3 separate regions of the Homo sapiens genome follow, and regions 2 and 3 are each linked to region 1. The links are contacts of gene promoters, found by promoter capture Hi-C in human tissues and cell types (Jung and others, 2019). All regions are on one chromosome and are shown on one strand. Each heading gives the region's core, a stretch centred on a gene start or on the middle of the fragment in contact. The rest is flanking DNA. Distances are from core to core; before and after follow the strand shown.

Region 1 (4,076 bases), core at 1,464-3,963:
GACTCGCCTGGCCAACATGGTGAAACGCCGTCTCTATTAAAAGTACAAAAAATTAGCCGGGCATGTGGCGCATGCCTGTAATCCCAGCTACTCGGGAGGCTGAGGTAGAAGAATCACTTGAACCTGGGAGGTGGAGGTTGCAGTGAGCTGAGATTGCGCCACTGCACTCCAGCCTGGGCAACAAGAGCGAAATTCCATCTCAAAAAATAATAAAAGTACAAAAATTAGCCAGGCATGGTGGTGGGTGCCTATAGTCCCAGCTACAAGGGAGGCTGAGGCATGAGAATTGCTCGAACCCGGGAGGTGGGGGTTCCGGTGTGTCAAGATCATGCCACTGCACTCCAGCCTGGGTGATGGAGTGAAACTCTGTCTCAAAAAAAAAACAAAAAACAAAAAACAAAATAGGGTCTTACTCTGTCACCCAAGGCCGGAGCACACTAGTGTAATCATGGTTCACCACAGCCTAGACTTGGACCTCTCAGGCTCAAGCAATCCTCCCATCTCAGCCTCCCCAGTAGCTGGGACCACAGGTGTGTAGTACCATGCCTGGCCAATTTTTTAGTTTTTTGTAGACACAGAGTATCACTATGTTGCCCAGTCTGGTCTCAAACTCCTGGGATCCTGCCTCAGCCTCCCAAAGTGCTGGGATTACAGGTATGGCCCACCTCGCCCAGCCACTACAGATATTTTTAAATTCCCTAAGCAGCTAATATGATAAAATAGTAGACAGATTCATATAATATATAAGACTACATGTACAAAATAATATAATTTCACGAACTAATTCCTCTTCAAATAGGAATGCTTGAATTTCTGTAAATTAAATGAGTACATATATGTGTACTCCACCACATACTCATAGAGATTAGAGAGTCTTCTATAAATGAAGCATAATATACATGTTTCATAACAGATGATTACTTTCAGGATTTTTGCTTATTTAAACGTGTTCTCAGTCATACAATAGAGAGTTGCAGGCCAGGTGTAGTGGCTCAGGCCTGTAATCCCAGCACTTTGGGAGGCCAAGGCAGGCAGATCACTTGAGGTCAGGAGTTCGAGACCAGCCTGGCCAACATGGCAAAACTCCGTCTCTACTAAAAAGACAAAAATTAGCTGGGCATGGTGGTGTGCACCTGTAATCCCAGCTACTCGGGAGGCTGAAGCAGGAGAATCGCTTGAACCTGGGAGGCAGAGGTTGCAGTGAGCCGAGATTGTGCCACTGCACTCCAGCCTGGGCAACAGAGTGAGACCTCATCTCAAAAAAAAAAAAAAAAAAGAGTTGCCGTTAGAAGACAAGTGACCTCTCGATTAGCAACTTAAAATTCTATTTTGCAGTCTGACTCTTAATTGAGACAATGTAGCATATTTACCATACTTTTAGTGGAAATAACCTAAATTCAAATTCTGCCACTTACTAGTCTGACATTGGGCAATTTCCAATGTACCTGAACCTTGGTCCTTCATCCGTAAAAATTGAATACAAGTAGTACCGATCCCAGGGGATCGTAATGAGGATTAAATGATGTGTATGTCAACAGCCTACTATGGGGACTGATACTTAGTAGGCACTCATTTACTAATATTAGTAACTTGTGTTCACTTCCCGCTGGTGTGGTGTAATGTTTGCAGAAGTTTTTGCAGTTTTAAGTATAAAATCTGAGACTGGGAGGTGATCCCCTTTGGCCTTTCATGTGCCCTTGCTAATTCTACAGATCCCTTCCCATCCCTTCCCCCAAATATACACCCCAGTGATAAGCAGAGCTCTATCTTCCACGTCCTTTCCAAAAGCTCCAGATAACATCAGAGCCCCTATACTGAACAATTTGTCTGATTCTGAGAAGGGGGTTCAGTAGATCTCGGGCCTAGGTCCGTGTTCTGCCCCTAATTTGACCACGTGATCTTGGACAGGTTACTTAATTTCTTCAGTGAGCCTTGGGTGTCCTCAGTCGCAAAAGGAGTAGCAGCTTCAACCACTCCCAATATCCCTTCAGATTTTAGACTGGGAAGAAACTGTCCACGCACCACAAAGATTAAAAGCGCCTGGTAACCCCTAAATACTCTCCCCAAACCCATTTCAAACGTCACTGCTTCCGATGTCTGGACTTCTTGGCATTTCGTACAAATCTCAAGGGTCCATGCTGGCCCCTGCGCCCTCACGCGGCTAGGACCTCACATTTCTACGTCGCGGGCGCCCTACCCTCTCTGGAGCTGGGTCCATATCCCCCTCCCAAGAGCGCTGCAGTAAGCACTGAATGAAATAACGGCCCCGCCTGACAGAGCCCAGCACAAGGCAAATGCTCAAGAGATGTTGGCTAATATCAGCAGTCAACGGATCCCGCGCCCTCCTTGAGCCTCAGTTTCCTCAAGAACGTAATGAGGACGGGCATAGACAATGCTCAAAGCCCCCAGCAGCGGGCGGAGGGTCCCGAGGCGGGCCTAAGGGGCGCACGCTGCGGAAGGCAGGGCAGCCCCGGAAGCCGGGCGGCCCTGAGAGTCCCGGGTCCAGCCCGGCGCGGAGATGCGTCCTCTCACCTCCCGGGCTCAGCAGCAGCTTCAATGCCTCCAAAATCCGATCCAGACCGCATGTCTCCTGAGCCCCGCTGCCCACGGCCTGTCGGGCCGCCATGACTGGAGTGTAACACCACGCTCGCGACCCGCTCAGGCGCCTCGGCAGGGCGCCGCCGCCGCCATGTTAAGTGTGGCAGAAGGCTCTGGGCACACTATGGGGCGGGGCCAAATCGATCGGGAACGCCCCCTTCACATTTTTTTTCCGTCCCGGCTTAGTCCGGGGGGTAAGAGGGAACCCAAAAATGGCTAATCTGCCCACGCGCACAATTTCAGAAGCTCAATATGATTAACCGCTATGTAAAGAAGGAAGAGAGAAGTAATGTATCATTAAAGCTATATTTCAATATGAAAATACTCAGGTACTCAACACTGGCAGACATAATGAAGCAGACAGATGCTTCCATCTGCTTACAGTGAAGTATGGATAAGAAAAACAATATTCAGGCTGGGCGCGGTGGCTCACACCTGTAATCGCAGCACTCTGGGAGGCCGAGGCGGGCAGATCACAAGGTCAGGAGTTTGAGACCAACCTGTCCGATATGGTGAAACCCCGTCTCTACTAAACATACAAAAATTAGCCAGGCGTGGTGGCGGGCGCCTGTAGTCCCAGCTACCCGGGAGGCTGAGGCAGGAGAATCGCTCGAAGCTGGGAGGTCGAGGTTGCAGTGAGCCGAGATCACACCACTGCACTCCAGCCTGGGCGACAGAGCGAGACTCCATCTCAAAACAAACAAACAAACAAAACCTAAGTACAGACGTACACACGCATATATATCCATCGTGAATGTAAAGCTACAAATGTTGTTATGGGTAATATGATTTTTTTTTTCAGTGAACTTAGTAAAGTTCCCAGTAAAAGTTCGATCTGTGTTCTGTTTTCATGGTTGATGCATTCCTCGAAAATTCAGGGTCTATCAAAACCATGCCCTCCGCCAAACTGTTTTTATATGTAAAACAGAATGGATTTGAGATTCAGATTATCGGAAACAGGTTTTCACCTACATAAATCCTGGTGGGACGTTGAAAAACCATGTTGTCTGAAAGTCATGCCGCAGACACAGGACAATGTTTTTGAGGGCAGGACCTTTATTTTTATTTTATTTTTTGAGATGGGGTCTCGCTCTGTCGCCTAGGCTGGAGTTCAGTGGCGTGATCTCGGCTCACTGCAACCTCTGCCTCCCAGGCTGAAACAATTATCTGGCCTCAGCCCCCCGAGTAGCTGGGATTACTGGAGTGCCCCAGCATGCCCGGCTAATTTTTGTATTTTTTGTGGAGACAAGGTTTCGCCCTCTTGGCTAGGCTGGTCTTGAGCTCCTCACCTCAAGTGACCTGCCCACCTGGGCCTCCCAAAGTGCTGGGATTACAGGCGTGAGCCACTGCGCCCGGCCCAAAGGACAAACTTCTTAATGGTCCGGTCCTTGGGCGAGAATAAGCTGCGCATAGCTATTACCCTTTTTGGCATGACTCTTGTTTCTTCTTTTCTTTGTCATTTTGGAATGCAGGGCCTG
Region 2 (4,112 bases), core at 1,613-4,112, 160 kb after region 1:
CTCACTGCAACCTCCGCCTCCCGAGATCAAGCGATTCTCCTGCCTCAGCCTCTCGAGTAGCTGGGACTACAGGCATGTGCCACCACGCCCAGCTAATTTTTGTATTTTTAGTAGAGACGGGTTTCACCACGATGGCCAGGCTGGTCTCGAACTCCCAACCTCAGGTGATCTGTCTGCCTCGGCCTCCCAAAGTGCTAGGATTACAGGCATGAGCAATCGTGCCCGGCCCCAGCGAATTTTTTATACTTTTAGCGTAGACGGGATTTCTCCATGTTGTCCAGGCTGGATTTTCTTTTTTTTTTTTTTTCTCCATGTTGTCCAGGCTGGATTTTCTTTTTTTTTTTTTTTTTTTTTTTTTTTTTGAGACAGAGTCTTGCTCTGTCACCCAGGCTGGAGTCCAGTGGTGCGATCTCGGCTCACTGCAAGCTCCACCTCCCGGGTTCACGCCATTCTCCTGCCTCAGCCTCCCAAGTAGCTGGGACTACAGGCGCCTGCCACCACGCCCAGCTAATTTTTTTGTATTTTTAGTAGAGACGGGGTTTCACCATGTTAGCCAGGATGGTCTCGGTCTCCTGACCTCGTGATCCACCCACCTCGGCCTCCCAAAGTGCTGGGATTACAGGCGTGAGCCACAGCACCCGGTCTGGATTTTTTCTTTATTTTAGTTAGGACATTCTCTATTTTTAGAAATAATGAGTTAGGTTAGTTATATTATAAATGAACTTCATTTCACATCATTTAACAATGTCGAAGTGGCATTACAAAGTATTTGTTGCAGAAAACAGGACAGCAAACCCCAGTCTTTAAAATATATTATTTCATACAATATTTTATACCCTGCTTCTCAAACCACACCATTCTTCATAGTAAACCAGGAAGTAAAAGAAACTGATGCAAGATTAGGCCCATCTTCATTTTTTTCTTTTTTAGTGCTGATGGGATCTTGCTATGTTCACCAGGCTCATCTGAAACTCCTGGCCTCAAGTGATCCTCCCACCTCAGCCTCCTAAAGTGCTGGGAATAAGTGTGAGCCACTGCGCCCAGCCTTATTCAGACTTTTTGACCCAACCCACGTCCTATACCCCAATAAAAACAAAAATACATACACACAAAAAAGAGACTTTTTGAGAGGCAAGAGTGTGCCTCAGTGATTCAAAACATTTTATTATCTAAACACCTAGACATGAGTTTTAGAGTAAATGCAAAGTCAACATGGATTTCAATAAGATGGACTCTCTATGTGAGACTGATTCGGGGCAGCCATTGGACACTGTGGTCTGGGAGGAGGCTCCACTGATGTGCTTCAATTAATCAGTGACTCTTACCTATTTATGAAGTGGGCTCCTGGGTAAGATTTAGTTTGAACAAAGGGACTTCCCAACACAAGAGTGGTAGAACAGTGTTGGGAGCCACTGGGCTGGTACGATTCCTGGACTAGCCCACGGTAGACAGTGGCTCCTCATCCTGAAGGCTGCAGACCTGACTGCCCCAGGTATAGCCATTGTCTGAGGCCCGAACTGACTCACCTTCCTGGTTGTCAGGATGCCCTGGTTGCTCTCAGGGTGGGTGGTGATGGTAAAATGGTCCCCGTCGTCACCGCCCATGATAAGGTAGGTGGCACGCCACGCTGGTGAGTTGGGGGCGTCCAGATCAGTGACCGTCAGCCTCTGCACCTCATGGCCCACTGCATTCTCAGGCACATGGGCCTCGTACTGTCAGTGTGAGAAGCACAGCACTATCAGAGCAGAGAATGACTGTCCTACTCCAGAGGCTGAGAAGCCTCCATCCAACCTCAGGGGATCCCCATGCCTTTACCCTTTCCTGGACCACCCACCCACTTTGCGGGGTTTCAGGGTATACACAGCGGCAGGATGTCCCCAGCAGCAGCCTCACAGCTGCTGGCACAGACCACACCAATCCTGTGCCTGCTTTCCCTACACGCAGGGGCCTGATGTTCCAGAAATCTCACGGGTTTGCATGCCCAAGCCCCTGCCACGTGTAGCTATCTATCCAGCTGAGATCAGAAAGGAATAAGGAAGGTGGCAAGAAGGGCTAGGTGCCTGAATGGGCTGGGGCACTGAACAGAAATTTTTTGGAGGTTCTGGGACATGTGACAAAGACTGGAAAATCAGTTGCTCGGAACAAAAAATTTATTTATTTATTTTTATTTTATTTTTTTAGACAGTCTCAGTCTGCCGCTCAGGCTGGAGTGCAGTGGTGTGATCTCGGCTCACTGCAACCTCCACCTCCCAAGCTCAAGCGATCCTCATGTCTCAGCTTCCCAAGTAGCTGGGACTACAGGTGTATGCCACTGCACCTGGTTAATTTTTGTATTTTTAGTAGAGACGGGGTTTCGCCATATTGGCCAGGTTCGTCTTGAACTCCTGGCCTCAAAAGTGTTCTGCCCGCCTTGGCCTCCCAAAGTGCTGGGATTACAGGTGTGAGCCACCGCCCCTGGCGTCATTACAAATTTTTATTCAGACCTAATTAACGTTCAGAGTTGTCTAAAGATGGAAGGGGGAGGATGTAATTGGCACCTTGATTGGCACTGAGTCCTCTGCCTTGGAGGTACACAAGCATTCACTGGGAAAAGATGGGCAGGTGTAGGTACAAGGAAAATATGTTTTCAAATCAACAAAGATTTTCATATCAAGCACTTCTTTTAGGGCATCGTGTTAGGAAACGTACATAGATTATTTCATTTGAAACTCAGAACAATGCAGCAGGTATTATCATTATCTCCTTTTCACAGATTAGGAAATGGGGCACAGAGAGGTTAGGTAGTTTTCCTAAGGTCACACAGCCATAGTGCTGAGACTGGCATTTGAAGCAATATAGACTGGTTCCAGTTTCCTGAGAAAGGCAAACTTTGGTCCTTCATTATCTGATGAGGGACTGAGTGAGGAAGGGGCATTACCTTCTGGGGGTCAAACATGGGAGCATTGTCATTGGCATCAAGGATCTCCACTACTGCCACTGCCGTGGTGGTGGAGCCGTCCCCATCCATGTCTGTGGCCTGGATGGTCAGTGTGTACTCAGGGACTTTCTGGGGAGAAAGGAGAGGGGAAGCCCATTGTGAGTTTAATCTGAAGGGTCCCTCCCCTGACCTCCAGGAAGCACTGGCTCATGGGTGTGTGGATGGAGAGGAGGATCTCTCCCTATCATAACGCTGACTCCTTGACCACCCCTCACCCACTGCCAGGAGAACAGAAGCAGAGGATGCTGTTGGAGAGGGAACGAGTGATCCAAATAGTTCTCCTGGGCCTGTCCTAGGGAAGCCTTGGCATCGCCCCCTGACCCTTAACTGCTCCAGAATGAGTCTTGCTTTTGTTTTTGAGACAGGATCTTGCCCTGTCGCCCAGGTTGCAGTGTAGTGGCGTGATCTTGGCTCACTGCAAACTCCACCTCCCAGGTTCAAGTGATTCTCCTGCCTCAGCCTCCCAAGTAGCTGGGATTACAGGTGCCTGCCACCACGCCCAGCTAATTTTTGTATTTTTAGTAGAGACAGGGTTTCACCATGTTGGCCAGGCTGGTCTTGAACTCTTGACCTCAAGTGATCCTCCCGCCTTGGCCTCCCAAAGTGCTGAGATTACATGCGTGAGCCACTGTGCCTGGCCTCAGAAAAAGAGTTTTGAGTGAGGATTTGGATAAAGGTATCAATTAGGAAACAGGCAGCAAATCCAGTATCCATGGAGCTAATTCTACTTTGTGGCACATAAGGGACCAATTTGGGTAATGTGCACACTAAGTGAGCCACTCTGAGAGGAAATGAGAAAACCTACAGAAAATACCAAAAGTAGGCATTTTACAGCTGCCTCCCAGCCCTGGAGGAGATTTAACGAGATTGGCTGGCAGCGGGCCACAGGCCCAAGGAACCAGGGGCATGGCATGTGAACCCAGCAGTGGCCATCCCAGCTGACGTGGGTCCTCACTGTTCTGCCTTGGGCTTTGTGGGCAGGGATAGGAGCTTCTGCTCTCAGAGTCAGTTCCCAGCCTGGGCAAGTCTGGGTAGGCAGTACTTTCCCTAAGGGCCACTCACTTCCCGGTCCAGGCCACTGGAGATGACGCTGATGGTGCCTGTGCTCCGGTGAATGGTGAACATGAGGTCGTGT
Region 3 (4,107 bases), core at 252-2,751, 170 kb before region 1:
GTGTCTGCCACTGTGCTGGGCCCTGGGGGACTAATCATAAGCAAGAAAGATACAGTCCTTACCCTCATGGCAAAACCTAATGGGGAAGAGGAAAAATACTGACCAAGCAATAACAATGGAGTGAGATGTGCCAAAATGGTGACAGAGAGGGACTTTTATGAGTAATGTTTGATCTGGTTTCTATTCTATTAACAACAGCTCCAGTATTATCTTATTTGCTCAGACTCTAAAGTGTGTTCATTTTTTTTTCACTACTCCCTGTTACCCTTCAATTAGTTCACTTATTATTCAGTCTTCGTTTACTTCCACACAGGATCTGAAGCAACTTACAATAAATAACGTTGAAACCATGTGTCATTAAAATAAACATTTTAGGCTGGGTATGGTGGCTTACACCTGTAATCCCAGCACTTTGGGAGGCTGAGGTGGGCGAATCACCTGAGGTCAGGAGTTTGAGACCATCCTGGCCAACATGGTGAAACCCATCTCTACTAAAAATACAAAAAATTTAGCCAGGTGTGGTGGTGCCTGCCTGTGGTCCCAGCTACTCAGGAGGCTGAGGCAGAAGAATAGCTTTAACCCAGGAGGCGGAGGTTGCAGTGAGCTGAGATCGCACCATTGCACTCCAGCCTGGGTAGAGACTCCATCTCAAAATAATAATAATAAATAAAATAAAATACATAAAATAAATATTTTAAAACCTCTACAGTAAGTGAGAGAAGTGCAGACATCCCAAGCTAAGAATGGCTACTGCAAATAAACCAAGAGTTTAGTAGTTTAATTTTACAATTCTTGGTAGCTAAGGCAAAAAAGGAATTAGAAAACACAGCTCTCATTATCCAATAAAAGAAGGAACATCATGAAGAGAGAGAAACTTCAGGAAGGACACTAAGAGGTATCTCATTCATTCATCCGGCAAATCTTTTTTTTTTTTTTGAGATGGAGTTTCGCTCTTGTTGCCCAGGCTGGAATGCAACAGCGCAATCTCGGCTCACCGCAACCTCCCTCTCCCAGGTTCAAGTAATTCTCCTGCCTCAGCCTCCCAAGTAGCTGGGATTACAGGCATGTGCCACCACGCCTGGCTAATTGATCCAGCAAATCTTAATTGAGTGCCCACAGTACTCCAATGTGCCAATGTTCTCAGTACTGAGGACAATATGGCATGAACAAGAAATCAAAGCTCCCATCTTCATGAAGCCTACTTCTAGCGGGGAAGAAAGACAATAAATAATAAAATTTCCAGCAGCAATGAAGGCTATGAAAAAAAATAAGGAGCGGGGGAGTTGACAATGTGGGTGAGGGCTCAGGGAAGAGCTCTCAGAGGAGAAGACCTCAAGGAACAAGGCATGTGAGGGCCTGGTGGAAAAGTGAAGAAGAGAGTGGGCAATAGAAGCTTTATATTCAATGCAGGAATCATACGGCTGTTTCTTATACTGACTGGCCATATAAGTCAAGAGCATATCACTATATTAACAAAACTGCAACTTAACGTTCCATTTATGTAAATTCCTGCCCTAACTGAGCTCCAGCACTCCTTTGAAAATGAGCATCCATTGGCCAGGTGCGGTGGCTCATGCCTGTAATCCCAGCACTTTGGGAAGCAGAGGGGGCGGATCATGAGGTCAGGAGATCGAGACCATCCTGGCTAACATGGCGAAACCCGGTCTCTATTAAAAATACAAAAAATTATCTGGGCGTGGTGGCGGGCGCCTGTAGTCCCAGCTACTCGGGAAGCTGAGGCAGGAGAATGGCGTGAACCCAGGAGGTGGAGCTTACAGTTAGCCGAGATCATGCCACAGCACTCCAGCCTGGGCGACAGAGCAAGACTCTGTTTAAAATAAATAAATAAATAAATAAATAAATAAATAAAATAAAATGAGCATCTGTTAAACTACATGCTCCATCAACCCATCCCAGCTACATCTGAGAACCCAAGAAGCCAGTGGGAGTGTCAGCATCTCAGACCCTGCATTGTACCTGGTCAGCTGGCTCTGGGCTCACTTGCTACCTTGTTTTCCAAGTGTTGGACTGGAAGAACTGGAACACTCACTGCATCCACTCTGCATTTCTCAAAGGGCCCCTGCCTCCACGTTCTCCGAGACTGGACCTCTCTTAGGCCTCACATACATAGCCTAGATCTGTCACATACTTGGCTCAAACCTGGTCTTCTTTGGGGATTTATGACCTTGCCTTCATTTCTTGGGGCTCTGCTACCCTCTGACTAATCTTCCCTCCCTTCTGATCTTGTGATAGAGGTCTCAGGACTGTATTGTACCCTAGTCTCCAGGTGGGAGTTGGCTTGAACTGGTTTCTATGGAGAACAAAATGAATGCACATAGTCAAAGAATCTTCCAGGGCTGCAATTTGGCATAGGCATTGAATTTTAAGATCCTACATAAGAGGTTCTTTGTCTTTTCTTTTTCTTTTTTTTTTTTTTTTGAGACAAGGTCTTGTTCTGTCACCCAGGCTAGAGTGCAGTGGTGCAATCATAACTCACTGCAGAATCAAACTCCTGGGCTCAAGAGATCCTCTTGCTTTAGCCTCCTGAGTAGGGTGGGACTATAGATGCACACCACCATGCCCAGCTGGTTACAATTTTTTTTACAGAGATTGGGCCTTGCTATGTTGCCCAGGCTGGTCTCGAACTCCTGGGCTCAAGTGATCCTCCTGCCTTAGACTCCCAAAGTGCTGAGATTATAAGTGTGAGCCACTGTGCCCAGCCCAGGGGTTAATTTGAGCTTTAGGGATTCCTCTATGTCAAATTTTGTATACATCTCACTGGCATTTTCCCAATTTTCCTTACAAACAGTACATTAATTTTGTTCAAGTATCCACCTGTCGCCATCCCTCCCCATGTGATTCAGGCTACAGTTTCCATTGGTCTAAGTGAATCGTGGTGGACATCTCCCTTTGCTTTAATTGGTTTAGGCATGGGCATGTGACCCAGTTCTGGACAAGGAGTTGTGAAGGAAAGTCTGCTAGAAGACTCTCAGAAAACTTTTTGCCTTTGGCTATCATAAGGATATATGAATTAGGGTTGCCTTAGAGTTGCTGCAACCAACTTGAAACCATGAGGAACTAAAGGATAAGGCCCATAAGCTGTGGTTGACAGAGAAAGATGAAAAGAATATGGGTCTTCAATGATGTCACTGAGCTAGAGAATTAGCAATCCTGGAATTTTTGTTATGTGTGATAATTCATTCTTTGTTAAGCCACTTGAGTTGGGAATTTCTGTTACTTGCAGCCAAAAGCATCCTGATATATGAAAACTGGAATGCTCTTCATATATAAAGTTGTAGAATACCTCAATGTCAATCCTATGTCTATCAATATGAAACATCAAAAAAGTTAGATTTGTCAAAACTAAGGAACTTGGGGGCCAGGCACGGTGGCTCACGTCTGTAATCCTAGCACTTGGGGAGGCCAAGGCAGGCAGATTGCCTGAGCTCAGGAGTTCAAGAGCAGCCTGGCCAACACAGCGAAACTCTGTCTTTACTAAAAATATAAAAAATTAGCTAGGCATGGTGGCACATGCCTGTGGTCGTAGCTACTCGGGAGGCTGAGGCACGAGAATTGCTTGAGCCCAGGAGGTGGAGGTTGCAGTGAGCCAAGATTGTGCCACTGCACTCTGGCCTGTGTGACAGAGTGAGACCTGGTCTCGGAAAAAAAAAAAAAAAAAAGGAACTTAAGGCAACCCCGCCTTTTTTTTTTTTTTTTGGAGACAGGGTCTTGTTCTGTCGCCCAGGTTGGAGTGCAGTGGTGTAATCACGGCTTATTGCAGACTTGACCTCCCAGGTTCAAGTGATTCTTTTACCTTAGCCTCCTGAGTAGCTGGGACCACAGGCGCATGCCACCACGCCCAGCTGATTTTTGTATATTTTTGTAGAGAAGGGGTTTTGCCATGTTGCCCAGTCTTGTCTCAAACTCCTGAGCTCAAGTGATCCTCCCACCTCAGCTTCGGCCTCCCAAAGTGCTGGATTACAGGTGTGAGCCACTGTGTACATATTTTTAAAATGGCTCAAAAGTCAATTTTATAACCAAAGTATAACAAAAGAAAAAATTAAACCAAATAATTTTCTTTCCTCTAATTACAATTTTAATTGAGAC

Evidence for each region. Contacts are between HindIII fragments. The study calls those that stand out against the background at their distance.
Region 2: a fragment that was not itself captured here is called in contact with the fragment with the promoter of TANGO6 in region 1 in 1 of the 25 tissues and cell types used here (mesenchymal stem cells).
Region 3: a fragment that was not itself captured here is called in contact with the fragment with the promoter of TANGO6 in region 1 in 2 of the 25 tissues and cell types used here (bladder and lymphoblastoid cells).

What each region holds. Positions count from the first base shown.
Region 1 is chr16:68,842,168-68,846,243 of GRCh38, reverse strand. It overlaps TANGO6 (transport and golgi organization 6 homolog), which reads right to left and starts at 2,713. Exons shown (of 18, transcript NM_024562.2): 1 at 2,533-2,713. The coding sequence starts at 2,626. RefSeq lists an enhancer at 2,473-2,742. The HindIII fragment of the contact is 20,381 bases long and covers 1-4,076 here.
Region 2 is chr16:68,679,902-68,684,013 of GRCh38, reverse strand. CDH3 (cadherin 3) reads right to left here. Exons shown (of 16, transcript NM_001793.6): 7 at 4,040-4,112; 8 at 2,918-3,046; 9 at 1,527-1,712. Among named protein-coding and RNA genes, the nearest start is that of CDH3-AS1, 36 kb to the right of the region's middle. The HindIII fragment of the contact is 4,049 bases long and covers 838-4,112 here.
Region 3 is chr16:69,013,228-69,017,334 of GRCh38, reverse strand. All of the region lies in intron 15 of TANGO6 (transport and golgi organization 6 homolog), which reads right to left. Among named protein-coding and RNA genes, the nearest start is that of HAS3, 90 kb to the left of the region's middle. The HindIII fragment of the contact is 8,154 bases long and covers 1-4,107 here.